Regions from separate parts of the Homo sapiens genome. Here all the other regions are linked to region 2. The links are contacts of gene promoters, found by promoter capture Hi-C in blood cells and fetal thymus (Javierre and others, 2016). All regions are on one chromosome and are shown on one strand. The core of a region is centred on a gene start or on the middle of the fragment in contact, and the rest is flanking DNA. Distances in the headings are between cores, read along the strand shown. Region 1 overlaps DNMT3A (DNA methyltransferase 3 alpha). Region 2 holds the start of ATAD2B (ATPase family AAA domain containing 2B). Region 3 holds the start of ASXL2 (ASXL transcriptional regulator 2). Region 4 holds the start of DNAJC27-AS1 (DNAJC27 antisense RNA 1).

What was found. Contacts are between HindIII fragments. The CHiCAGO score rates a contact against its expected background, and 5 or more counts as called.
Region 1: a fragment that was not itself captured here is called in contact with the fragment with the promoter of ATAD2B in region 2 in 1 of 17 cell types (fetal thymus); the score reaches 5.4 in fetal thymus.
Region 3: a contact is called between a fragment that was not itself captured here and the fragment with the promoter of ATAD2B in region 2, in 3 of 17 cell types (non-activated CD4 T cells, naive B cells and total B cells). The highest score is 6.4, in non-activated CD4 T cells.
Region 4: a fragment that was not itself captured here is called in contact with the fragment with the promoter of ATAD2B in region 2 in 4 of 17 cell types (non-activated CD4 T cells, fetal thymus, monocytes and 1 more); the score reaches 6.6 in non-activated CD4 T cells.

Annotation. Positions count from the first base shown.
Region 1 is chr2:25,248,743-25,255,291 of GRCh38, forward strand. All of the region lies in intron 6 of DNMT3A (DNA methyltransferase 3 alpha), which reads right to left. Among named protein-coding and RNA genes, the nearest start is that of LINC01381, 48 kb to the left of the region's middle. RefSeq lists silencers at 2,517-2,586, 3,317-3,536, 3,707-3,856 and an enhancer at 4,663-5,197. The HindIII fragment of the contact is 393 bases long and covers 4,046-4,438 here.
Region 2 is chr2:23,922,855-23,928,958 of GRCh38, forward strand. It overlaps ATAD2B (ATPase family AAA domain containing 2B), which reads right to left and starts at 4,269. Exons shown (of 28, transcript NM_017552.4): 1 at 3,701-4,269. The coding sequence starts at 3,916. It also overlaps a transcript of UBXN2A not described here. RefSeq lists enhancers at 2,936-3,185, 3,284-4,202, 3,396-3,445, 4,203-5,119, 4,706-4,795 and silencers at 3,926-4,005, 4,206-4,535. The HindIII fragment of the contact is 2,488 bases long and covers 2,277-4,764 here.
Region 3 is chr2:25,874,713-25,880,868 of GRCh38, forward strand. ASXL2 (ASXL transcriptional regulator 2) reads right to left here and starts at 3,775. Exons shown (of 13, transcript NM_018263.6): 1 at 3,454-3,775. The coding sequence starts at 3,510. RefSeq lists an enhancer at 2,835-2,884 and a silencer at 3,795-3,954. The HindIII fragment of the contact is 1,072 bases long and covers 4,039-5,110 here.
Region 4 is chr2:24,971,213-24,978,189 of GRCh38, forward strand. DNAJC27-AS1 (DNAJC27 antisense RNA 1) reads left to right here and starts at 900. Exons shown (of 3, transcript NR_034113.1): 1 at 900-1,020. It overlaps DNAJC27 (DnaJ heat shock protein family (Hsp40) member C27), which reads right to left and starts at 743. Exons shown (of 7, transcript NM_016544.3): 1 at 606-743. The coding sequence starts at 692. RefSeq lists enhancers at 154-283, 237-755, 294-403, 664-773, 756-1,274 and 2 more and a silencer at 454-533. The HindIII fragment of the contact is 3,754 bases long and covers 2,006-5,759 here.

The sequences.
Region 1 (6,549 bases), core at 2,992-5,491, 1.3 Mb after region 2:
TCGCCATATTGACCAGGCTGGTCTCTAACTCCTGACCTCAGGTGATTTGCCCGCCTCAGCCTCCCAAAGTGCTGGGATTACAGGCATGAGCCACTGTGTCTAGCCTACGTTAATGTTTTTTTTTTAATTTTATTATTATTATACTTTAAGTTTTAGGGTACATGTGCACAACGTGCAGGTTTGTTACATATGTATTCATGTGCCATGTTGGTGTGCTGCACCCATTAACTTGTCATTTAGCATTATACCGTATATCTCCTAATGCTATCCCTCCCCCTACCTATGGAGATGTTAATTCTATCCAAATATTAATCAGGCACTATTGTTTAGACACAGATATTGGTTCCACCCTCTCCTATCTTCTTAATCAAGACTAGGATCTTCAGCCAGGCATGTGCCTGTAATCCCAGTTACTGAGCAGGGAGGATCACTTGAGCCCAGGAGTTCAAGACCAGCCTGGGCAACATAGCAAGACCCTGTCACCAAAAATTTAAAAAGCAAGGGGGACCCTCTCTTCTTCTCCACAATTCCCCTGGGCAATCAATCCTTCCTATTCCTGGTTTCCAGGCCACAATTCTAGTTTTGTGATGTCTGCTGACGAAGAAATCACTGCTCTGGGTTTAAAGAGCCCATCTCCCCCCAGCACATGCTCAAACACCATAGGAAGCTCCCCAAGAGCCTGTCTGTTCCCATGCTCAGACGCCATGCTGGAGTTCTTATGGATCACACCCAGTGTGTATTGTTACCAGATTCGACCCCTTCTATGTGCACCCTTCAGATCCATAAATACATGTATTCATTCAGTTATTTACTGAGCAGGCACTATAGACCAGGCGTGCTCTCTGCCATCCCACCAACAAATTAATAAGCCAAACCCCAGTTATTCTCCCATTGCACAGCCTCCATCCTTTCACCGTATCACACTCGTCTTTCAGGCTACGATCCACGCGCCCATTCCTTCTCACAACCCGCTCCAGGATCCCTACAAAGGAGAATGAAATCCTTGATACTTAGCTCTGAGAACCATTAGCCTTTTACTGAATCTAGGAAACACGGCCCTCTGACTTCAAGGCTTTGCACCCATTTCCACCATACCAGATTTAGAGGGGAGAAAACCCCATTTTCTACATGCCTTTCAAAAGAGCTCCCCCATGGGCCTAGAGCTGCGAATGCAAACCCATCCTCAAGGGTAAAGAGGATGAGCAAGCAACCTGGAGTATGAAGAAGAGCTCTAATCTGAAGTTGCAGCCTCTACATTCCTGTCGGAGCCTCACAACCAGCAGCTGACTTTGGAGCAGTCCTTTCTAGGAGTTGCTCCAACATAAAAAGGCACCTGAACGGAAGGATTTCTGGAAAGCTTTTCTGACCTGTTTAAAAATCTGGTGTATATATGGACCAATGATTCCCAGGACTCTCCCAAAGCCTGTCAATGGACCCCCCAGATCCAAGGGTCCCAGGTTAAGAACCTTTGTTTGAAGCTCAGTGGTCCAATGTATTGTCTTACAGATTCATTTAATTTCACTGAGTCTTCAAGTCTTTGCCTCCAAGCCACAGACCAATCTGTTTCTTATGGCGATTCCGAAAAACACTGAAGATGTTAAGTCCTAGTTCTTCCTCTGACTCAACAAATTCTAAAACAGGATAATGCATCCTTTGCCCCCAACCCCCAAACAGCTGGGAAAATGAGCTCATGGATGGCGGAATGAGCTCACGGATCGGACTGCGGGGGTGGAAGAATGTGGAGTAATTGCTCATCGCTCCCTAGCCCCACTCTCACCTGGCCAGAACTCTGCCCTCCCCTTCCTACTATCAATTAGCCATCGCCTCCTCCCCTACGAGAAGGTGCACTGAAGTGTGGACCCCGCTATGGGGGAGGGTGCCTCCCTTGCTGGGATCCTCAGCTGCGTCAGCTACCCTCGCAGAGGAGCCCACACCACGCCGCTGCTCCTCGCCCACCACGCCTTCTCAAGCTTCAGGCATGGGTGGCTGACCTAGGGTGATGCCTCGGATGATCCAAAGACCCCGTTTCCAGGCGTGGCGAGGCCCCTGAGCCAGTACGAGGTGTGCAGGTAGCAGTGGGCGGGAAGGGGAAAGGACCCGCTATCAGTTCCTGGCAGCGGCAGCAGCAGGTGGGCTGGGCTCCTCCTCTGGCTCCCCAGGTCTAGGAGTCGTGCCTGACACCACCCTCAGCACTCCCCCACGGCCCCTTTGTCTCTCAGCCCCTTCACAGCGAGTTCCTGAACATTCTTCTTCCCCCACAACTTCCCCCAGCTTGTCAGATGCCGCGCTGCGAGCTGTTCAGCATCCCCAGCCCACTTGGTGCAGAACACGCACCCGGCCCGGTAAGGGCTGGCGGAGGAGGAAGGGGCCTCCATCAGGACTGGGGCAGTGGGGTGGGGGAAGGAAGAAGCGGGGGGGGGGGTGGGTGAGCAGCAGGGGGCCTGACGAAAGGGGAAGGGGCAGCCGGAGCTGGGTGGGGGAGGGGCCTCACTAGACTAGGCCTGTCTGGGGCGTAGGGAAAGCACCCCTTTCCCTCTGCACTCCTGCCTTCCTCCCCAGGCAAACAATAAGAGAAACAGGGGTGAACTCGAGGCTCTCGCATTTGGGCTGCGGGCTGCTCACCCCCAGGGGGGCGGAGAAACCAGGCGGCATTCAAGAGACACCACACTATTCCCCACTCCCTGCTGGCTCACGGAAGCCCCTGGGCCTGGAGTCCGTCCAGACTGGGAAAGCCACCGGGAACTCCGGTGACTACTGCCTCCGGTCCAGTCCCATCTCCTCAGGCAGTTGTCCCGCCTCCACCTCCCCCTGCGACTGCAGCGCTTCCCATTCCAAAGGTCAGAGGTCTGAGCGCCACCGCCCCCAAGCCCATGCGGCCTTGGGCTACCCTGGTGTCACAGGCCGGCCCCCTGTCAGGGTCGCACCGTGCTCTCCCGCCCCCCACCACTTCTTTCTGGCGGCCTGCCTGGAGGCTTCCAGGAACTCGCAGGAGAGGAAGCTGTCCCTCTTAAGAGGCCGCAAGCTGGCAGGGCCCTGAGGACCGCGTGGTCCCCCAGCCAGAAACGCAGGTCACCAGGGAAGTGCCAGGCACCCATCTGCCAGCTCAGCTGAAGCTGCCTCCAACCCAACTCCTGGGCCACCAGCTCCGCGTGCCCCAGCCTGCAGTTACCACTGCCCGGGCTCCCGGCCGGCTGCTCTTCCTGTCCCCCGAGGGCGCCAGGTGCCACTGGAGCCCTCGAGGAGTGGGGCCTTGGGGCTCGTGGGCAGGAAGGCGGCGGGCCAGCACTAAGTCAGCATCTCCAGAACTCGGGCCAGGCCGGGACGCCGCGGCTGCTGCGGGCCGGGGAGGCATACTTCACTCTTTTCAAACCCGGAGGGCTGCGGAGATCCTCCCACCGGCCCTGCCGCCTCCCCGCCCCCGGTCTCCCCGGGGCTCCGTCCAGGAACCTACCCATAAGGCCAGGTGCAGCCCCTCTGCAGTCGCGCTCAGGTGTGAGCCGCGGCCCTGAAGCTCTGGAAGTAGCTGCCCGTCTTGGGGGAGGGGAAGGGGGCGATGGGGCTGGGGGCGGAGGGGGCCACTGGGAGGGGAGGGGGGCGGCGGGGGGGAGGGAGGGAACATTTTCTTTGTCTAGGACTCCAGGTCACGTGGGCCCCGCTGGAGGGCCTGGTTGGCTGCGAGCGGCCCGGGGAGGGGGCCGGCGCTCCGACGCTGGCGCTGGGCCAGCCCCTCTTCTCCGGTCCGAGGGGCGCGGGGCCGGGGGGCGAGGCCGTTCCCCGCCCGTTCCCAGGGCCCGCCCAGGCCGGGCTGCAGGGAGCGCCCCGCCTTCGGGAAGACCGCCTGGCCCCTCCCCCAGCTCTGGAAGAGATTAGCGCGGGGCCGGGGGGCCGGGAGGGGAGGGAAGGGGCTGCTCCCGAGCCGCCTGCCCGGAGGGAGCCGGGGGTCCGGGCGAAAGCAAGCCGGAGCTTTCGGACGGCCTGGGAGAGCCGGGAGAAAGTTGTGAAAAGTGAGTTTCTCTGAAGCACAACCAAAAAAAAAAAAAGAAAAAGCTTACAGATAGGAGGCCCAGGAAGCTGTAGGAAAACTCAGCACACAGACGGAGAGTGACAGCAGGCGCGCGCAGGCATTGGGAGCGCTCCAGATCGGGGATTGTTTGGGGGGTCTCCCGCCTCCACACTACAGGTGAATAGAGAAGCGGGGGGGCCTCAAAAAGCGCGGCGTGAGGAGGTCAGGCTTCGAGTCCCAGGGCCCCTGCGTCACTCTGGGCCTTCCCTGGATTTCTCATTTTCCTGTTTGCAAGGTTGGTCGCGGCGAGGGCGCTCCTTCAGAAAGTTCAGCAATTCCTTCATTCCCAGGCTCAAACATCTGCAGATCGAGAAGACCTGACTCCTCTCCTGGGGCCTCCAGGTGCGGCCTCCAGGTGCAGCCTCCGCCATTTCAAGCTTCCTCCTCCTGAACAAAGGCACCTACCCCCAAGGCAGACGCAGTCCCCACCCACAGCCCTCCATTACGTTGGCTGTAGGATCAGATAAAGAAATAGACCCTGTTGGCTCTGCCCTCGAGGGGTTGAAGATTCCACTAGACTTGGAGAAATATGAAAGGATCACTGTAAAACAAACATATGTAAAGGTAACTATGCCACAAATACCAAGTAGAAAAAAATGGGCGGCATGGATGACAAAAGAGGTCAGAGGTCAGTTCCAGGTGAGCCGACTGGGCCTGGAGGCTGGATCGGACTTGGAATGAGGTGAGATGGGTAGGATGAGCAAGAGCTGCCGGGCTGGGGAGGGAGGAGACCCTCGCCCACCTCCACCCTCCCAGTACACGACAGGGCAAGGTAATGGCAAGCCTTCAGGTGCGTCCTTGGGTATATTCTGTAGCAGGGAAGAATAACCGCAGGTTTTCTGACAAGATGAATGAGTATTTTGGAAAAATCAGCCTAGTTGCCGTTGGCAAGATGAATTAGAAGGAAGAACTGAGGAAATGGAGGAAAATGCACCCCACAGCAGAGGGCTATTTGGGCAGCGGCACTTGTTAGAAGATCTGGACTTGGCCGAGCGCGGTGGCTCACGCCTATAATCCCAGCACTTTGGAAGGCTGAGGCAGGCGGATCATGAGGTCAGGAGTTTGAGACCGGCCTGACTAACATGGTGAAACCTTGTCTCTACTAAAAATACAAAAATTAGCCAGGCGTGGTGGCGTGCGCCAGTAATCCCAGCTACTTGGGAGGCTGAGGCAAGAGAATCGCTTCAACTTAGGAGGCGGATGTTGCAGTGAGCCGAGATCATGCCACTGCACTCCAGCCTGGGCAACAGAGCGAGACTCCGTCTCAAAAAAAAAAAAAAAAAAGATCTGGACTTCAGTTCTGTTTCCACCACCATGACCTTAAACAAGTCACTTAACCCCCAAGAAATCTGTTGTCTCATCTGCAAAACGAGTGATGACATCAGCCCTCTTTGGCCATGGAACGCCACCATCTCCTAATGACAATGAGACAATTCTCTAGGTGCCTGGCTCCCAGCCACAGTCACCTGGGACATACAGGTGCTGGTATAATGAAGTCACGAGATGTGCAGTGAGGGAGCCCCCCCTCCCCCTGAGGGCCATCAGAGCAAGCAAACCCTGAAGAGCAAGGACCCCAAACCAGAGAGCCTTCTACCTAGAAGACTTGGGTACAGACTCCCCCCCAACCCTGAGACCCAGAATCCATACAGCTAGGAAAAGAAGCTATTCGAAAAACAAGCAAACAAACAAAAACACAGGCCCTCTTCTGTTCCAACCCATCTTTCAACCCAACTAAGGTATTTGCCTGGTACACATTTCCAGGGGCTCCCCAAGCAGAAGTGAGAAGCCCAGAATTTGTCCCTCTTGCCTGCTCCCAACCTTTAGGGAATGCAGCATGACTTGCTTCGCTGCTTCTCTCACTGATACCTCTTCTGCATCCATGCCGGTCAACGGGCCTGAGAACTTACTTCAGGCCTCCTCTCAAAAGAAGTTTCTGGTTCTGGCTTGGTGGCCTTTTGCAGACACTGTCTCATGTACGATACCCGCTCTTCCATTATAATGCGGCTAAACACCTTAGACTCCACATTCTGTGGTCTTGGGACATAAGACTGCAATGATGCCGTGCGTGCAGCAAGGACTCAAGGTGTCAGAACTGGCCAGAACTGTTCACTTTCTCTTGGCCACATATTAGGTAGCTGTTCCCTCCGGCCGTCAAACTTCCTTATTCTCATCCTTTAACATTAAAGTCAAATCCTACCTCTTCCACACAACTTCCCAACAAGCAAAAGGAAGCCTAGGCTCAAAGGTGTCCCCTTAACAACCCAGAGCATCTTTCTTCCCTCTCCTGTAACTATGCAGACAGGAAACACTGCCTTTTCTAGACTGAGTCGCTTAAACAGAGATGTGTCTTCTTTGTGGTCAATGCACAGTCAGACCCCAAAGCAGAAGAGACCCCAAGATCTAGAGCAGGGGTGATTTTAGTAAAAGGAAAAATCCCCTTACTAAAATGGGGCAATCTTCAAGGATCCTCAGGTCACACATGCTCT
Region 2 (6,104 bases), core at 3,019-5,518:
ACAACAAATATTGGGGAGATGTAGAAAAAAGGGAATCCTGGTACATGTCAGTAGAAATGCAAAATGGTGCAGCCACTATGGAAAACAGTATGAACGTTCCTCAAAAAATTAAAAATAGAACTACCATATGATCCAGCAATCCCAACTTCTGGGTATTTATCCAAAGGAATTGAAATTAGGATTTCGACGGACATCTGCACTTCCATGTTCGCAGTAGCATTATTAATAGCTAAGACATGGAAACAATCTAAATGTCCAAAAAGAGATGAATGTAGAAAACGTGGTGTACATGTGTGCATGCCCAGTGGAATACTATTAAGCCTAAGAAGGAAATCCTGCCATTTACAACAACACAGATGCACCTAGAGGATGTTACACTAAATAATATGTCAGTCCCAGAAAGACAAATACTGAATGATCTCACTTATCTGCTAGTTTAGTGGAATCTAAACTAGCAAATTCACAGAAGCAGAGAGTAGAAGGGTGATTGCCAGGGTCTTGTGGGGGGACAATCAAGTTTCACTTATGCCAGATAAGTTCTGGAGATCTATATAGCATAGTGCCTACATCTAAGAATACTGTATTGCATACTTAAAATTTTCTAAGAGGGTAGATTTTATATCAAGTGTTCTTACCACAAAAATAATACTAATAATACATTCATAATAAAAGGGACAGGGAAACTTTAGGAATGACGGACATGTCTATGGTGTTGATGCGGTGGTGTTTTCACAAATATATACTTATCTCCAAACTCACAGAGTTATATACACTAAGTACCACCTTTTACATGTCAAAAAAAAAAAAGGCTTTTCATACCGAAAAAAAGAAAAAGAAAATAATTCCAATAATCGGCAGAATGCATATTTTCCCCCATCCTATGCATATACTACTTGGGAAAAAGACAAAACTTTAAGAAAAGCTCATAGCGCTATGACTTTTTAAAGCAAATAAAATGTCTCTGGACACAGTGAATGAAATAATCTAAAAACAGGGAAAAGGGGGAAAAATAGGCATCAAGTGTAGTTAGTTAAGAACATGGCACAGGCTGGGCGCGGTGGCTCACGCCTGTAATCCCAGCACTTTGGGAGGCCGAGGCGGGCTGATGACGAGGTCAGGAGATCGACACCATCCTGGCTAACACCGTGAAACCCCGTCTCTAATAAAAATACAAAAAAATTAGCCGGGCGTGGTGGCGGGCGCCTGTAGTCCCAGCTACTCGGGAGGCTGAGGCAGGAGAATGGCGTGAACCCCGGGGGGCGGAGCCTGCAGTGAGCCGAGATCGCGCCACTGCACTCCAGCCTGGGCTACAGCGAGACTCCGTCTCAAAAAAAAACAAACAAACAAACATGGCACAAAAGCAGAAAAAGGAGAAACTCCTCAATTACAAACAGGAATATTATGTTACAAACAGGAATACATTTCTTTCTACAAAAATAAGGGTCTGCGAAAGCAACAACACGGGCAACCCCATTTTGCACCAAATGAGACTTTACAGACACTGGCAAATGCTTATTACAGACCCCACAGACATAGAGGGTGTCTTTAAGTACTCCAGAAAGGGTGAACCAGGAGTGCTAAATTCCTACAAAACTGGAGAAGAGCTAACCAGAAATATACAACCTGCTTCATAAATATATAGTCCATAAACTTAATAAATTCAGAATTATAATTTATCCTCTTCTAAAGGTCCAATCACTATGTAAGAGTAGTTACGTCTCTAAAAAAACCTTTCAGAGAAAGCAATTAGATGACTACATCATCTCCTAGAGCCGAACATAAATCTTCTTAAGACTGAAAAACAAATATTTCAAAGTAAATCTTTAGTACCCTGTTATTTATGGTGCTTTAAAACATTTTAAAAGGATCTTTGAAACAAAGTTTCATTAGTACCCTTCTACAAAGAGCTCTCATATCTTTCATTCTTTTAGCAATTTAAAAGCTACCAAATGTTCATTTCCTCATTAGATTATTGATTCCTAGCCTTTTAACATCTCTATAACAGCTGCTTGACAAATTACCTCACCTTATTCCTCGGGGGGTGAGGACAGCATGATATCCATGAATTCAAAAATGGGACCACAAACTGATGAGTGAAGATGAGCTAATTGCTTCAGATGAGTTAGACACTGCTCTAACAGACTAGGCATTCACATAGCATGATACGATTAAATGCTTACACCCTAAATATTTTCTTTGTCCTTAAATGTACAGAAAAGATCTTTTCTTAAATTGAGTTTTATTTTAAAATATGTGATAGCCTCAGTAGGTCAAGAAGCTTGAACATGTTTGGAATAGTTTCCACCGAAAGCCTCGTCTTCAAAGTACTTATTCTCAACAGTTTGCACAACTTTCAGATTTAACCTTATTTCAACCTAAGAGAGCTGTAAGCCCCCAAAATAGTCTATTAAATAGGACGTTATAATGCCCAAAATTTTATCAAAGAAAAGCCAAAACGATTTTCAAAGATATAATAAAAATATTTCAGAGTAGTATGGTAAAATATTCCTGTCTCTGCCTAGATCCATTCTGTTAGTGTCAAAACAGTGTAAGACACAAAGAAAAGCACACACAAACCGCGATCTTGTAGACCCCTAGAACATAAAATATTGCTTTCCCCCAATAAGAACCACAAAATGGTGTGGAATTAAAGGAGCATTTTAAATGAACAGCTTTTTCCAGCCAAATTACTTAGCAAGTCAACCTCTTTTAGACAGAAGCAATACACTCTTCTCTGAATTCAGAAACAATCTCATAGTAAAACAAACGTGTCAATTCCTTTAAAACAATAAATATCTGTGCTTAGCTTTATAATGTAGGTAATAAAATTTCAAGATCTTTCAATCAGTTTTTTAATTCAATCACCAGCGTCTTTAAATGTCATTTTTGCAACTGCATGACTATGGTGTTCATTCACCTTTTGTAATATAGTCCCATAACAAAAATGTAGACACCCAAGAAACCACACAGTTTTGGCATGATGGTGCTGACTATCCGAAACATTCCACTTGTTTCTTTCGACGTGCTCCTTCTGTGACCTGAAAGCTCTGGTTCCTACTAGCACCTTGGTGAGCTAGCTGGCTGGTTCCCCAGCTATAATATCATGTTTGATCTCTCCTGCCTGGAGAGGCGATAGCGTTGATTTTGTTTTTAAAGTTGGTGTCAGAGCAGCTACAAACTTTTTTCAGCATCCCTGCCTGGCTGCCAACTGGAGCTCTCTGTTCACTTCCTCACCAACTTGAACCACCCCCAAACTGAGAGTAAGCTGGAGTTAGACAGCGGCAGGAACTGACACACTTTCAAGAAGGGTTTGACACCGCAGAAAACTTTCACTTCTCCAACCCTTCCACCCAGGGGCTCTGGCCCTTCGCTCTTGCTTCCCCGCTAGAATTCCCCTCTGGGGCAGGACAAGGACACGGACAGCAGATCGTTCGAATGACGCCGAAAGGGACCCCCAAAGCCCTCTCCCCTGGACTCAAGGGCTGTTCTTCACACAAAAGAGCCGGGCCAGCTTGAAAAGCAAAGGGGCCAGCGTCGCGGCCCTTCTCTGGGTGCCACCCTCCACCGCGCCCGCAGACCCTGTCTCCAGCCGCCCGAGCGGTCTCCACTGTAGGCTTCCTACCCCCAACCCGGCCAGACAAAGCCCCGGCAGCAGGGCCGGCACTTCCGAGCCTCCGGACTCGGGACGCCGCGCTCTTACCCTGGCCTCATCCAGAGTGACGCCGGCGCCACCGCTTCCCCCGGCTTTGGCGGCGGGGCAGCTGGCGGCGCGGGTCTTGGAGGAGCGGGTCCGAGAGGAGATGAAATGGCTGCTGCCTCCGGTCGCCCCAGGCTCTGCTCCGGCCCCAGGCCCAGGCCCGGGACCAGGAGACTTGGACCCGAGAAGGCGGAGAGAGCTCTTCCGGGTGTTCACCATGGTCCAGCCAGGGGGACGGAGTCCACGCCGCGCCCGGGAGAGCCGAGCAAGGCCGGCCCGCCGGCCGGTCAGTCAGGGCCAGCGGAGCCGAGCCGGGCAATGAGAGACGAGCCGGCCCGGAGCGTGCGGAGCGCAGACGAGCACAAGAGAGAGCCGGGCAGAGGAAGGGAAGTCGGCGTGAGCAGGCGGCGTGCGGGAAGCGGGGGCGGTGCTGCAGACCGGCAGCACAGACACTCCGCCGGCTTCGCCCTCCTCAGCGGGAGCCGAGCGGAGCCGCCATTTCTACCCCTTTCTCTCCCGTTCTCGCTCTCGAGCTCCGTGCGTCAAGGCTCCAGCGCCGCAGGGCCAACGAGACCGCTTCCGGCCGCAGCCACGGCGGGGCGCTGCGAAGCCGGCCAGCCCTTCCCGGCTGCTCGCTCCTCTCCCTGCCGCCTCCAGCTGCCCCGCCCCCGGCGCGGCGTCAGCGCTCGGCGGCCGGGGAGCGACGCTCTAGGCTGTCAGCTCGGTGGTTTCCAGCTCTCCCCGACCGCAGGGCTGGGGCGACCAGAAAAGCCAGACTAATCAGGACGAGTTCGGGCGTGGAATTGGGCCTGAAGCCCTCATGCCCAGCCAGGCCTGAATGCCCCAGACCCCACCGTCACCCCCGTGGCCTGGATGGAGCAGGGGACGGCCGGCGAAGGCGCGGGGTGGAAGGGGAGCGGCGACGAAGGCGCGAGGAGCTGACTGGGAATCCCCAAGCTACCCGAGGCAAGACACTGAACTTGAGTCGCACTTTTCATGCCTGTAGAAATGAGAATGACAGCTGTGATAAAAAAAAAATTCATCTGGGCGGTATCTGGAACTTGGTAAGCTTAAGAAGAGAAGGGGGGGGGGAAACACCATGCTAGAACTCTGCGTTTTTAAACAAAGCGAGGCAGGGTCGTTTTCTATCCCCTTAGCCAGATCTAAGGCGGAGCCAAAGAATGAGTACCCTGTAAGAGCCGCCTCTATCGCCGCCCCCTGCCCCCGGCCCGCTGAAGAATTAAGAATACAAAAAGCTGAACCCACAGATAAAGCATTTGCAATTTAACTTCCAAAGAAAAAAAAATTAAGCCACACAATTCATATGAAAAGCTCTGCTGTAGGCCGGGTGCGGTGGCTCAAGCCTGTAATCCCAGTACTTTGGGAGGCCGGGGTGGGTGGATCACCTGAGGTCAAGAGTTCTAGATCAGCCTTACCAACATGGTGAAACCCTGTCTCCACTAAAAATACAAAAAATCGATGGGTGTTGTGGTGGGCACCTGTAATCCCAGCTGCTCGGGAAGCTGAGGCATGAGAACCACTTGAACCCAGAAGATGGAGGTTGCAGTGAGCCGAAATCACGCCACTGCACTCCAGCCTGGATGACAGAGCCAGACCCTGTCTCAGAAAAAAAAAAAAGAAGAAAGAGAGAGAGAAAGGAAGAAAGAAAGGAAAGAAAGAAAGAAAAAGAAAGAAAGAAAAGCTCTGCTGTAAAGTAGGAATTAGGTTCATTTCAAAAATTCACAGTACAGGCCGGGCTTACGCCTGTAATCCCAGCACTTTGGGAGGCCAAGGCGGGCGGATCACTTGAGGTCAGGAGTTCGAGACCAACCTGGCCAACATGGTGAAACCCCCTCTCTACTAAAAATACAAAAAATTAGCCAGGTGTCGTGGTGCATGCCTGTAATCCCAGCTACTTGAGAGGCTGAGGCAGGAGAATCGCTTGAACCCGGGAGGCAGAGATTGCAGTAAGCCAAGATCGTGCCACTGCACTCCAGCCTGGGTGACAGAATGAGACTCCATCTCAAAAAAAAAAAAATAAAATTCACAGTACATTAGACATAGCCTACTGTTTATTGGGCAGGAGTTTATTAAACTGTTTATTAAACTAAGAAAAATTGAAAACTCAGGAAAAGTCCTGAAAATGACCAAATGGCATCAAACTTAGAGCATTCTGGCCATCTAAGCTCCCAATCATTCCAAAAAACTGTACAACACTGGAAATGACAATTTTTTTTGTTTGGGAACCAGTATGGATTCCAGAATAGATAAATCCTTCTGACACAATTTGCATACCACATCCTCTCCTGGACACTTCACCTGCCACTTAGAGTTGATGTCTTAATGGGTGGGATTCCTCATAATGGAACCATACCTGGATTTTCCTGGGTCAAGTAGCTATCACATC
Region 3 (6,156 bases), core at 3,325-5,824, 2.0 Mb after region 2:
AATTGTACTAAACACTACACTATTTGTCTCTCGCTCAAATCATTCATTACCACCATCACTACTGCCCTTAAAATTTAAAACATGCAGCTGAGTATAGTGGACCACGCCTATAATATCAGCACTTTGGCAGGCTGAGGCAGGAGGATCACTTGAGCCCAGGAGTTTGAGACCAGCCTGAGCAACATAGGGAGACCCTCTCTCTACAAAAAAAAATTTTTTAATTAGCTGGGAATGGTGGCGCACACCTGCACTCCCAGCTACTCAGGAGGCTGAGGCAGGAGGATCACTTGAGGGGTTGGCTGAGTTGCCATGAGCCGCCATCGTGGCAGTGCACTCCAGCTTGGGCGACAGAGCAAGATCCTGTCTCAAAAAAAGAAAAAGTAAAACATGTGAAACTGTTAACTAAATACTAGAATGCTTTTTATAACTAGCATATTTAAATAAGATCAACAGGGAGGCAGTCCAGTGTAGTGAATGCACATTCAAGATCAGGTGAATCGCAGCTCCATCACCTTTCTCTGGTGTCCTTAGTTACTGGAGCCAGTGTATATATTTAAGTTCATTTTATCAGCCTTTTGGCATAATCTACTATTATATAATAATTATGAAGCCAAGCACAGTGGCACATGCCTATAGTCCCAGCTACTTGGGAAGCTAGGACAGGATGATCACTTGAGACCAGAAGTTCAAGGCTTTAGTGCACCACGATCATACCTGTGAAGCCACTGCACTCCAGCCTGGAGAGCATAGCAAAACGATTCTAAATAAATAAATACAATTATAATAATAATGATAATAATTATGAATCTTATTATTTTGCTTATAATAACCTTACATCAAACCATGTAGCTCTCCCACATAAACACACACACCCCGTATCATCCCAGTATCACATATCTACATTTAATGTGTTGAATATATCTATTGGTATATTATTGGTCAGGAAAACAACCTTATTTTAATAGTACTCTCTAAAACATGATAGCTCTACAATGGAGGTATCAAAAACACATGAAATAAGAAACAGACACCTGCTTCCTTGATGAAACTGTTCCTCGAACACTTGACATCCTAATGCCTAAGAAATAAGTTTAAGCCTTAAAACTTCTTTTCCTATTCCTCTGGATCTAAATACTAACATTCTTATTTAGGTCAAAGTTACTTTCATTTGTCAACTCACTAATTTTCTGATTTCATTATTCTACAGTCTGAAATATTACAAATGTACCTTTGCCCGGTCCTTCTTTTATTTTCATCTATTTATCCCAAAAACAGAAATATTTTGAACACCGAGATTTAGTTTAATCCCCTCACTTATAGGTAATAAAATAACCCCCCAAAATTAAGAGTGTTTTCTAGATTTTGGCTACTAGAAAAACTTTAGTGTCATCATTCTCTTTCTAAAACACATTTTCACTGAGACTGGGGCTTCATGTATTTGCCAGAATCAAAGAAAAATACCAAGCTACTAATATACTGGTACCCTCAGGAACTCTACTGATCAAAGTAGTCTTTCCATCTTTTAAATACTATTTTTCACATAGCTAGCTAGGGCATGAAATGAGCAAATATACTAACATAGGAAAAGCTAAGTAGATGCAGACTAATTTTTCCTATTTGTCGCAATCTCCCAATGACTATTTTATCAAAGGGATCATAATTCAAAAAACACTCCTAAGATTCTAGAAACTTGTGTAATATTAGTGCTTTGAGAGGCCAACGGCAGGAGGACTGCTTCAGCCCAGGAGTTCAAGACTAGCCTAGCCTGGGCAACATAGAAAGACCCTGTCTCTACAAAATATTTTTAATTAAAAAAACAATTTTAAAGACCCTAGGAACTTAAAATTAATTAGCATAAATTAGGGTCCAGGTCTGCTTACCTATAATTAAAATTTATCATGCTTCTTTTATTAACAGAAAGAGGTCTTGAGGTATACTGAGAGTAAAACAGCCCTCTGTGGGGATGCAACCTCTACACCTTCAAAAAAAAGTATAGGAGTCTTATCTTTTAGAGGGAAACTACTAGCACAGGAAGATATACAAAGACATATTGTAAGTGAAAACACCCAGTAAGTAAAATGTGCTATTATTTCTTAACTTTTTTACATTTCCAACTAAGAGAGATACAAATTGAAAACTCATCAACCTCCTAATGCATAAAGTTTACAAAACAAATGCACAAAGTTTAGAAACAAATGCACAAGACTGAATAAACAGTATGACCTAGATTTGGGGAAATAAAGAGACTAGACGGTAATATACCAAATGTTAGCAGATACAGCCGAGCGGTGAAATAAATGTGATTTTTTTTAAATGTTCTTCTTTATACTTTTTTATAATTTTCCAAATTTCCCCACAGTGAACATTACTTTTATATTTAAAAAACTCATTAAAAAATAAACCATATGGCATCTAATAAGGGTTCACTAAGAAGGGCTACGTTGTCGAAGTATTACCGGCATTAATCACCATTAAAGGGGTGAACACCTCTCACTTTCCACTATTAAAATGCTGCCGTTTAATGCCCTATTACTTTTCTGCTGCACCCTCAACGATGTATGAACTTCACTATCTCCTGCCATTTCATTTCTGCATACAACATGCTTTTAATTTTTTCTTCTTAAAATATGGTAAAAGTTCTCACTAATCCTCAATATTCCACTTTTTAAAATCTACCTCTAAATTTCGTCATAACACAATTAGGGGGAAAATTGTTTTGCCCACTAATTACAACTTCATTAGGGCACCATCCCTTTGGCTAGGGTAACGTGAAGGCCGGGTAAACTACACGTCCCACCATGCATTGCTGCCTTGTTCAGAGTAGGTCTCTACGGAAACAGGAAAAAAAAAAATTCTACAAGTCCCACCTGTTACTTCGTTTCTAAACACCTCCTGCACTTTCGGCTCCAACACCAAACAAAAACAAAAGCCTCGTGATCTCTCGTCTGCTCCGGGAGCCAGACAAACAGGGGGCCCGGGGTCACAGGCACGTCCGCTGTAACGGGTAAATTCTATCCAGCTCCAGCGCTCCCCTCTCCTTTCCGGGGCTGGATGCACGCACAAGCCTTCTCCTATCTGCATCCAATGGGGGCTCTCCAGCCGCACAAGGGAGAAGAACCGGTTACCGTGCAAGCACCACAGACTTCCCCGTGCCGGGGCGAGGGCTACCACAGAGCGGAGGTGATATCGGCTCGACCCCAAAAGACAGCCTCAAAACACTGAGAGGACTCGCCGCAGACGCCGAGGGACGCCACGGCCCCGCGGCTATCACGTTCCGCCGGGCGCCTCCATTCCCACAGGGATCGCAACCCCGACACTAACCGCCGCCCTCTCCGCGCGGTTTTGTGCCCCTTCAGCCGGGTCCCTGGGCCAGTGACCTCCCTTTCCCTGCGACTGGCGGGCGACAAGGGAACAAAATCCTCCCGGCCTTCCCCTTCGCTCCCTCCCCCTTACCGTCTTGGCGGCCTCCGCCCAGGTCCTGCCCTTCTTCCTACGTCCCTTTTCCCTCATGTCGGGTCTTGAACTGACTGGGAGGCTCCCGTGTCCGGGCTCCGGCCGCCCTCCCTGCCTGCTCTGCCCTGCGCTGCTTTTCCCGCGGTGCCGGGAAAGGTGGGAGAAAAGGGAAGTCAGACCGGGGGGGCACCCAAGCAGAGGAAGCGGCGGGGGTGGTGCGCGGGGGGGTCTATGGGGCGGCCGGTCCTCTTGCTGCCGTTGCCACTGCTACCGCCGCTGCCATATTGGGTTCTTACTGTACAGGCTGCCGCTACGGTCATGTGACCGCTCCCGCGCGGCCGTCACTACTGTACGCAGCCGGCCGCGCGAACGAGCGCGGGCGCGCCCCCGCCTCCCAAGCCCGGCCGCTGAGCTATCGAGCCGGCGGTCTGCGGTACCTCGCCACGCCCCCGCCCTTCCGGTCTCCGCCTCTCCGCAGGAGCATGCGCGCCAAGGAGGCCCCGGCAGTAGCTGTAGTCTGACGCCTGGCGCTCACACCTACAGCGAATATCTGCCTGCGGAAGCGGAACCTGTGCCATCCGGGAAAGCTTACTGAGCGGATCCCGCCTCTTGCGAGGCGCTGCACAGGCTGTGTAGACCTGGGGAGCTGAACTCTTCCCTCAGTGGGTGGCTCTGCCAACTATCACTTTAGATCAGCCCTGCGTTTGTGTTTTCTCATTTATTTGCATTTTTACAGAGGTTATCTTTTTGAAGATAGGCAACAATTCTCGTCTGCCTATTAACCCCATTCGATAGGCGAAGCAACTGAGATTGAGTGACTTGCCAAGCTCATAAGTCTGGGATGTAGAGAAACCAAAAATCAAATTGCCAGCTCAGAGCCCTTTCCATCTCCCCAGAATGCCTCAAACTTAGGTGACTTTGTTTTTAAGGCCACCAGTAACTGCATCCATGCTTTTACATGTGAAGCTACTCATCAATGACAGAAATGGTGTCTTCTTTATTTCGGTGAGCTCAGTCCCTAGCATAGTGCCTGTACATATCAGGCGCCCAGTAAATATTTGCTGAATGATTCACCTATTTCTGTGGTCAGAGACCATTATTTGTAGTATCCGTAACAGCTTTCTGAAAGATCCAGAATGTGGCATCTTCTCTTACATCATCTACACCTTGATACCTTGCAAAGTAAGAAGAATGTAGTAACAACTGCTGATCTCCCAAATCCACCTGCTTCCAGAAGCTGCTTCCAAACAATCCAGTAAACTTACTATAGTGTGAAATAGGACTGAGGATTGGATTGCCTCTTGGGAGGAAAGACAGGTGAGAGCAATACTTAAAGTTTATGGATGCGTTTCAGAAATTCATGGACTCCCTAAAATTATGAACTATATTTTGTGTGTTATATGTGAATTTTTTAAGAGGATTCATAACTTTTCCTCCATTTTTCAAAAAGGATCTGTTGTGCAAAAAAAAAAGAGAAAAAGATATTAAAGGGAGTTTGAGAGGCCATCTAGAAGTATCTAGATACTTCCTTATATTTCCGTTCAGTCATGGATCAAACAGCCTATTTCAGCAATTGATATGGATATATTTTCCCAAATGTCTTTGGTAATTCATAGCCTTATGCATTACACAGGTAGTATGTACCACCTCCCTCCAAAGCTTATGTCTGTAGTCTAAGAAGGCCTTCTCGCCAGGTGCGGTGGCTCACGCCTGTAATCCCAGCATTTTGGGAGGCTGAGGTGGTCAGATCACTTGAGGCCAAGAGTTCAAGACAAGCCTGGCCAACATGGAGAAACCCCATCTCTACTAAAAATACAAAAATTAGCTGGGCCTGGTGGCATGCGCCTGTAATCCCAGCTACTTGGGAGGCTGAGGCAGGAGAATCGCTTGAACCTGGGAGGCAGAGGTTGCAGTGAGCCCAGAGATCGCGCCATTACACTCCAGCCTGGGCAACAGAGCAAGACTCTGTCTCAAAAAAGAAAGAGAGACAGAGAGAAAGAAAGAGAAAGAGAGAAGAGAAAAAAAGGTCTTCTCCATCCCTGGCTGTTGAGCTGAGTACAGCTTATCATCCAGTCCTGTTGTTTGGTCCTGGAGCCCCAACTGGTTTTCAGACCTTACTAGGGTCCTTACTTTGCATTTCTGGAGCTCTATCCCCAGGTTTGAATTTCAAGGGTAGGGATTGTGATGTTGTGGTTCCTACTTCTTAATCTTCCACAGATACAGATAGTTTATTATTATTATAAAAGTATAATTCCCCAAAAAGTATTTTGTCCCCATGTCTATTGATTGAATTTGTTATGTGTATTTGCATCTCTCTCATCATCCCCACCCTCCTTCTGGATTTCCTTAGATAGTCTGTTTCTTTTCTCACCCTACTCAAGCCCATCCTACAGGGAATGCCAAATCTATCTTCTTAAAACTCCACCCACTACCCTACTAAGATATCCTCCCTAAGATATCCTCTTGATTGAGTCACAGTTTCTTAGCTTTACAGATACAGTTTCTATAATCAACTTAGTCATCCTTTGATGTATCTCTGGTTACTTCCATCAGCATTTGCCACTCCCCTGAAGACCCCACCTCTACTTTCGCCTCTTCATTTAACTAATGACATTGCTTCATATATCATGTAAAAATTATTGGCCCCCCAGTTGCAGTCTCACCTTGTCTTCAACCCCTAAATTTACCCATAAGTCCGCGCAT
Region 4 (6,977 bases), core at 2,633-5,132, 1.0 Mb after region 2:
GCAGAGAGAAGGGCGGTGGAACTAACAGATATGGGGACACCACCAAAAATAAAACACAACGCAAAACAAAACAGCGCGGACCCCGGCCATCCCTTGCACCTCCCCTGTGAAACACGTCAACGTCAGTTACGCTCTCTCGTGACGGGAATGCAGAATCTGGGCTGCCGGGCACCATTTCGCGAACCCCAAATTCTCACACGCACCCCATAACGTTCCGCCGGCTCCCAGGCCCGGCTGGGGGAACTAAACTTTCATCCTCCATCTCCCGGTCCCGGACGGCCCCCTAGAACGCGGGCAAGGTATCTAGGCCGACGGCCCCTCATGGGGACCCAGGCCTTCTTACTCTTTTGGGGGTACATTCAAGGCTTAGAGGCCACCCCAGACACCATCTCCGGAAGAGTGACGTCGGAGGACGAGGGGGCAACGGAAAGGTCAAAAAGGTCGGGGAGTTTCGTTCGCGGAGCCGCACCCCTCGGCTGAGACCCGGGCCTGCTCGGGGGCGGAGAGGAGGCCGGGCCCCAGGCTGTTGAGTGGCCGCCCTTCCAGCCAATGGACACGTCGCCCCGCCACGCTGGGGCCCGCCCCTCCCGGCTCGCTGTACTCACTTTCCCCACTTCGGCGTTGCCCATGGAGATGACTTTGATGCGGAGAGACCTGCCGGGCTCCTTCCGCTTCGGCATGTTGGCCTCCATGGCCCTGGCTCTCTCGGGGCCACCCGCCTCGGTCTCTTCTTGTGCACCGCTGGCCCGTCCCTCAGGCCTCCTCGTCCAATGGCGGAGCCGCTGCTCTCGTCACCGCCTCGCCTCCGCTGCTCGCCATCCCCGCCGCTGCCTGGCAGCAGGCGCGGGCGGTTGGGAGCGTGGGGAGCCGGGGGAGGGAGACGGGAGTCTCGCGATGCTAGCGCGGGGCTGCTGACGTCATCTGCAGGCCCTGGAGACGCGACTGCAGTTACCGAGTTTCTAAGGCCTCGTCCCCTGACGGGAAGGCGGCGTTGGGGGGCGGCTGGGTTTACCCTTCGAGGTGAGCGCGTCCTTGTTTTCAGGGACGCCCGGACGGGAGGCGTTTGTTGCTTTCGCAGCCGAGTGGTGGAAATGTATTGGCTCTTCAGGGCGGGTCTGGTAGTGTCTCGTCCGTTTGGGAGTGTTTTTTTTTTTTTCTGGATTCTTTTTCGGTTCCATGGGCCGGGCTGCTGCTCCTCTTCCCCCTCCAATATTTTGTTCCCCTTGCTCGAGATCCCCGAGAGGCAGACCCCAAAGCCAGGAAAGTGGGGAGGTCGGAACCCTGGTTCTGGAAGAGGGCCTTGGGCAAGGCGTGAAGCGATTCTGAATCTGGTTCCTATTGTTTTTTATTTTAAATGGAGTTGTCTATTTGGAGTCAAGGCAAGAGTGTTTAGTCTTGGCCCTCCTATTACAGATCTCTGATGGATTTGTTGACTCCTCTGTGGGAGAAAGGCTTGGTCTACTGCAGGTGTTAACGCTAAGCCAGGCTGGAGCTGTGGACGTCAGTTTCCTCAGCTCCCCGCTGTTCGCTTCGAACGTGACCTCGACGTCTGCTCTCCCCTTCCCTTTAGCTGACAATGTGACAGTGCTTGAATAAAAGTCAGTCTGACAGGAACGGTAATTTTTTTTCAGTGAATATCTTCAGTTACAGAAGATAAATAGAACTTGACAATGATTATTTATAGTGCCCTGAAAAAAAATGGCTGCCAATTTCCCTGTATATTACAAAGACAAAAGTAGCATTGCTTCTTTTCTCACCTAACTTTAAACATCTTAAGGGAAGTGCATTACAGGAAGGCAATGAGCAAAGGCTCAACATTTCACAGTAAAGTCAGATTTTCCACATTTTAATTTTAAAATGTGTTTTTTAAACATTAAGTTTTTTTTAAGACAAGTTTATTCTGGATTGTTTTGATAATCAAATAATATAACTTAATTCACTGAAGCTTCTAAAATTATTTACAAATATGAAATATAAGTCCTGGTTAGAATTTGGATAGTTTTAAAGCTTAAAAGAATCCACATGCTAACTTCTCAGTATGATTTAATAAATCAAATTACTAAACATGTAATTTCTTCGACAGTTCACCTTTGGCCCTGTAATAGGGTAACTGGTATTGTGGAAGAATAATTATAAAATGTCAAATCTTCAGCTGTTATGATTGATTAAGTATGGTGCTGTTGAGACTAAGCAGTAAAACATGCCACAGATTTAAATTGATTACTATTTTTTTCATATTGATGGGGTTTTTTTTGTTTTTGTTTTTGTTTTTGAGACAGAGTTTCCCTCTTGTTGCCCAGGCTAGAGTGCAGTGGCACAATCTCTGCTCACTGCAACCCCTGTGTCCCGGGTTCAAGCAATTCACCTGCCTCAGCCACCCGAGTAGCTGGGATTACAGGCACCCACCGGTATACGCAGATAATTTTTGTATTTTTAGTAGAGACGGGGTTTCACCATATTGGCCAGGCTGGTCTCGAACTCCTGACCTCAGGTGACCCTCCTGCCTTTGCCTCCCAAAGTGTTGGGATTACAGGCATGAGCCACAGCGTCCGGCCCATATTGATGCTTTTGACACTTTATTGTATATAGCTACATTTTCTACTGTGTGTATTAAATTAGTTTGGAATCGAAAGAGCAAGAAAGTTGTTTTTTTTCCCCCACTCTTTGAATATAAAAAAATAAAAATCAGCACGAGTTAGCTGCTTTTTCCATAGTATGGACCTGGGAGGTATAGTGTGAGCATGGATTCTGGAGCCAGCCCGATACACTTAATCTTGGCATATGTTGTAGGCATGAGGTGGTGATAAGGATTGTAGGAGATAATGCACAGGAAGTACGTAGTAGTCTCCCAGCAAACAGCAGCCACATGCTCTCATTTGCTCATACTTTTTTATGTGTTAAGAAAAATCCTACATCTTTTTAATGTGTATTTTTAGAAAGTAAATTATGAAATATTTAGGACATACTTAAAGGTATAAAGTATAATGGAATGAATAGCCATGTATCCCCCACCCAATTTAAGAAATAAAATATCACCACTGGGCATGGTAGCCCACCCCATAATCCCAGCACCTTGGGAGGCCAAGGCCAGTGGATCATTTGAGCCCAGGAGTTTGAGATCAGCCTGGGCAACATGGCAGAACCCTGTCTCTACGAAAAAAAAAGCCGTTGTGGTAGCCCAAGCCTGTAGTCCCAGCCACGCGGGAGGCTGAGGTTGGAGAATCACCTGAGCCTGGGAGGTTGAGGCCACAGTGAGCTGTGGTCGTGCCACTGCACTCCAGCCTGGGCAACAAAGTTGGACCCTGTCTCTAAATAAATAAATGAAACAAGAAAACATCACTGATACTGTGCGTAGCCTTTCCCAATACATCCCTCTTCCCTCTCTACAAACAGTTGCAACAATCTGAATGCTGCTTTAATTTCCAGGCATTTAAAATTGTTTTACTATATATGAATATATACCTTAAAATGTAGTATTGCATTTCATCTTTCAAAACTGTTTTGAAATAATTTTACACAGAAAATTTCAAGAATGAGACCAAAAAATCTTGTCTACCCTTTATCCAAATTCATCAGTTGTTAACATTTTGTCCCATTTTTTCTATCACTTGTGCTATCTATATGTACATGTATACTCAAATGTTTCTGAGTAGTTTGAGGTTTATTTGCAGACATTTTAATAGATAGATATACATAGATAGATATAAACACAGGCCCAGCTGGGTGGCTCACACCTATAATCCCAGCACTTTGGGATGCCAAGACGGGTAGATCACTTGAGGTTAGGAGTTCGAGACCAGCCTTGCCAACATGGTGAAACCCCATCTGTACTAAAAATACAAAAATTAGCCAGATGTGGTGGCAGGCACCTGTAATCCCAGTGACTTGGGAGGCTGAGGCAGGAGAATTGCTCAAAAATATATATAAAGACATATATAATATATACACATATATATATAGTGTGTATATATACATATATGAATATATGTCATACTTACCTATATATGTATTTCTTTTTTTTTAGAGAAGGAGTCTCACTGTGTTGCCCAGGCTGGTTTTGAACTCCTGGGCTCAAGCAGTCCTCCTGCCTCAGCCTCCCAAAGTGCTGAGATTATAGGCATGAGCCAATGTGCCCAGCCAGCTTGTTTCTTTATCCATAAATAATGTGTGTTTCCTCAGAAGGACTTTCTTCTACATGGCAACAGTGATTTATCAAAATCAGAAAATGCAGCATTTATACAGCACTATTATAAAATCCTGTGGTTTGAATCAAACTGTACACTGAGGTACCTCACATCCCCACAGTAAATCCACGGGGGGATATCTGTGGAATAGCTTGCATTCTAAATTTTCAAGGCAAACAAAATGAAATCTAAATGACTGTACAAAACTACTAGCTTGAAGTTGTTTACAGTTTCAACAATAGATGGCGCCAAATTCCTTGGCTATGTCATGTCTTGGGGCATCTAGGCTTTCCAGTTGGTTGTGATGAAAAGTGAGTACACTGGGCCGGGCGCAGTGGCTCACGCCTGTAATCCCAGCACTCTGGGAGGCCGAGGCGGGCGGATCACGAGGTCAGGAGATCGAGACCATTCTGGCTAACACAGTGAAACCTCGTCACTACTAAAAAATACAAAAAATTAGCTGGATGTGGTGGTAGGCGCCTGTAATCCCAGCTACTCGGGAGGCTGAGGCAGGAGGATACCTTGAACCTGGAAGGCGGAGGTTGCAGTGAGCCGAGATAGCACCACTGCACTCCAGCCTGGGTGACAGAGCGAGACTCCCTCTCAAAACAAAACAAAACAAAACAAAACCCTGAGATGCTGAAAGCACTGTGAACAAAGAAAATTTGGGAAACTTTTATCTAATTCACAGTTAACACTCAAATTTCACCATTTGTCCCAATAATATTCTTTATAGCTGTGTTTGACTTGGTCAACTGGTCTAGGATCTAATCTAGGATCATTTAGTTACATATCTTTAGTCTTTAAGCTGGAATGGTTCCTCAGCTTTTCTTTTTCTTTCAAAATGACGGTTATTTTTAGAATATTCCTCAATTTGTGTTTGTTTGTGTATTCTTGAAATTAGAGTCAGTTATGTTATATTTGGCTGGAATACCACAGAAAAGATGTTATGGGCCAGGTGCGGTGGCTCATACCTGTAATCCCAGCACTTTGGGAGGCCAAGGTGAGCAGATTACCTGAGGTCAGGAGTTCGAGAGCAGCCTGGCCGACATGGTGAAGCCGTGTCTCTACCAAAAGTACAAAAAAATTAGCTGAGCATGGTTGCACGTGTCTGTAGTCCCAGCTACTCGGGAGGCTGAGGCACAAGAATTGCTTGAACCTGGGAGGCAGAGGTTACGGTGAGCCGAGATCATGCCACTGCACTCTAGCCTGGGTGACAGAGCAAGACTCCATCTAAACAAACAAAGATACTATGTCCTTTTTGGGCAGCATATCAGTTGGGATGCCAATTTTTTCCATTTATTAATGATGCTTACTTTAGTTCATTGGTTAAGGTGGGGTTCATGAAGCTGATCTACAGTAAAGTGACTTTTCCCTTTGTAATAAGTAGTTTTTAAAGGGATACTTGGAGATTATATGGCTATCCTTTCTTCACTGAACTTTCACCCACAAATTTTTAGAATCCAGTGATTACTTATGGCTGAAGAGATTATTACTATGATGGACGCAAAATGCTGATTTTCCAACTCCATCATTCCATTTATATTTATTACTTGGTATTCTACCATAAGGAAAAGCTTTCCTTTCTCATTCATTCATTTGTATCAGTATGGCCTTGTATATGCTTATTTTACTCCATGAATATTATTATTTATTTTGATACTCAGGTTGGCTCGTATGTCCTTTTGATGTCTTCACCTTTGTTGTTGTTGTTGTTTCTGTGTTTGTTTAGCACTTTCTTACTTTTTTTTTTTTAAATTTTTTTTAGAGACAGTGTCTCGCTCTGCTGCCCAGGCTGGAGTGCAGTGGCTCAATCTCGGCTCACTGCAACCTCCGCATCCCAGGTTCTAGCAATTCTCCTGCTTCAGCCTCCTGAGTAGCTGGGATTACAGGCGCATGCCGCCAGGCTTGGCTAATTTTTTGTATTTTAGTAGAGATGGGGTTTCCCAGGCTGGTCTCGAACTCCTGAGCTCAGGCAATCCACCCGCCTCAGCCTCCCAAAGTGCTAGGATTACAGGCTTGAGCCACCATGCCCAGTCACTTTCTTACTTTCTTAGCACAGCAACAAGCCCTGCTTCCAAGGATCCTTTTAATGGAGGATGGTATTTAGAAACCAAGATCTGGGTGCTAGGTGTTCTCAGTAGTACTAGAGTGTCTTTGCTTTTGGACCTTTCAGTTGATTGAGCCAAAAAAAGAGATATATGTACATATATACATGCATCTGAATCCATTTATTAAAGTATAGTTTATATGGATAATACCAATGCATTTTAGCATAACAGGATTTGTTCTAGTCTTCCCCCTTTCCATAATTATGACTTCCTGCTTCAACAGTGAGAAACTTGGCTCCTTTTATCCTCAGTATATTTACTCATTTGCTCAATCCTACACTACATAGGAAGTAGTTTCAGAGTTGCTAACCCATACCATTTTAAAAAACAAAAGCCCTTTGAACTAGAGTTCAGTATTTGTTTATGACTTTTTGTCCAAAACTGACAAATACAGTTTGTCATATAGTATAAGTATTGTGTTCAAACGTTAGTTGGGTTAATCCTTTTTTTTCCTTCTTCAGTGTGGTTATGGTTTGCATTCGAAATACAATTAAGCTCATTTGTTTCTTTAGTATTGTAGCTTCAGTTTTTTGCCCCTCATGATTAGTGACTTTATTAACGTTTTTGGGTATGTAAAACATTAACAGATTCAAAGTTAAAGCAATACAATCAGTATACCCACATGAGTGTCACTTTCACCCTTCATTCCAATCCTTTTCACCACTTCCCACCTACCTGCTGT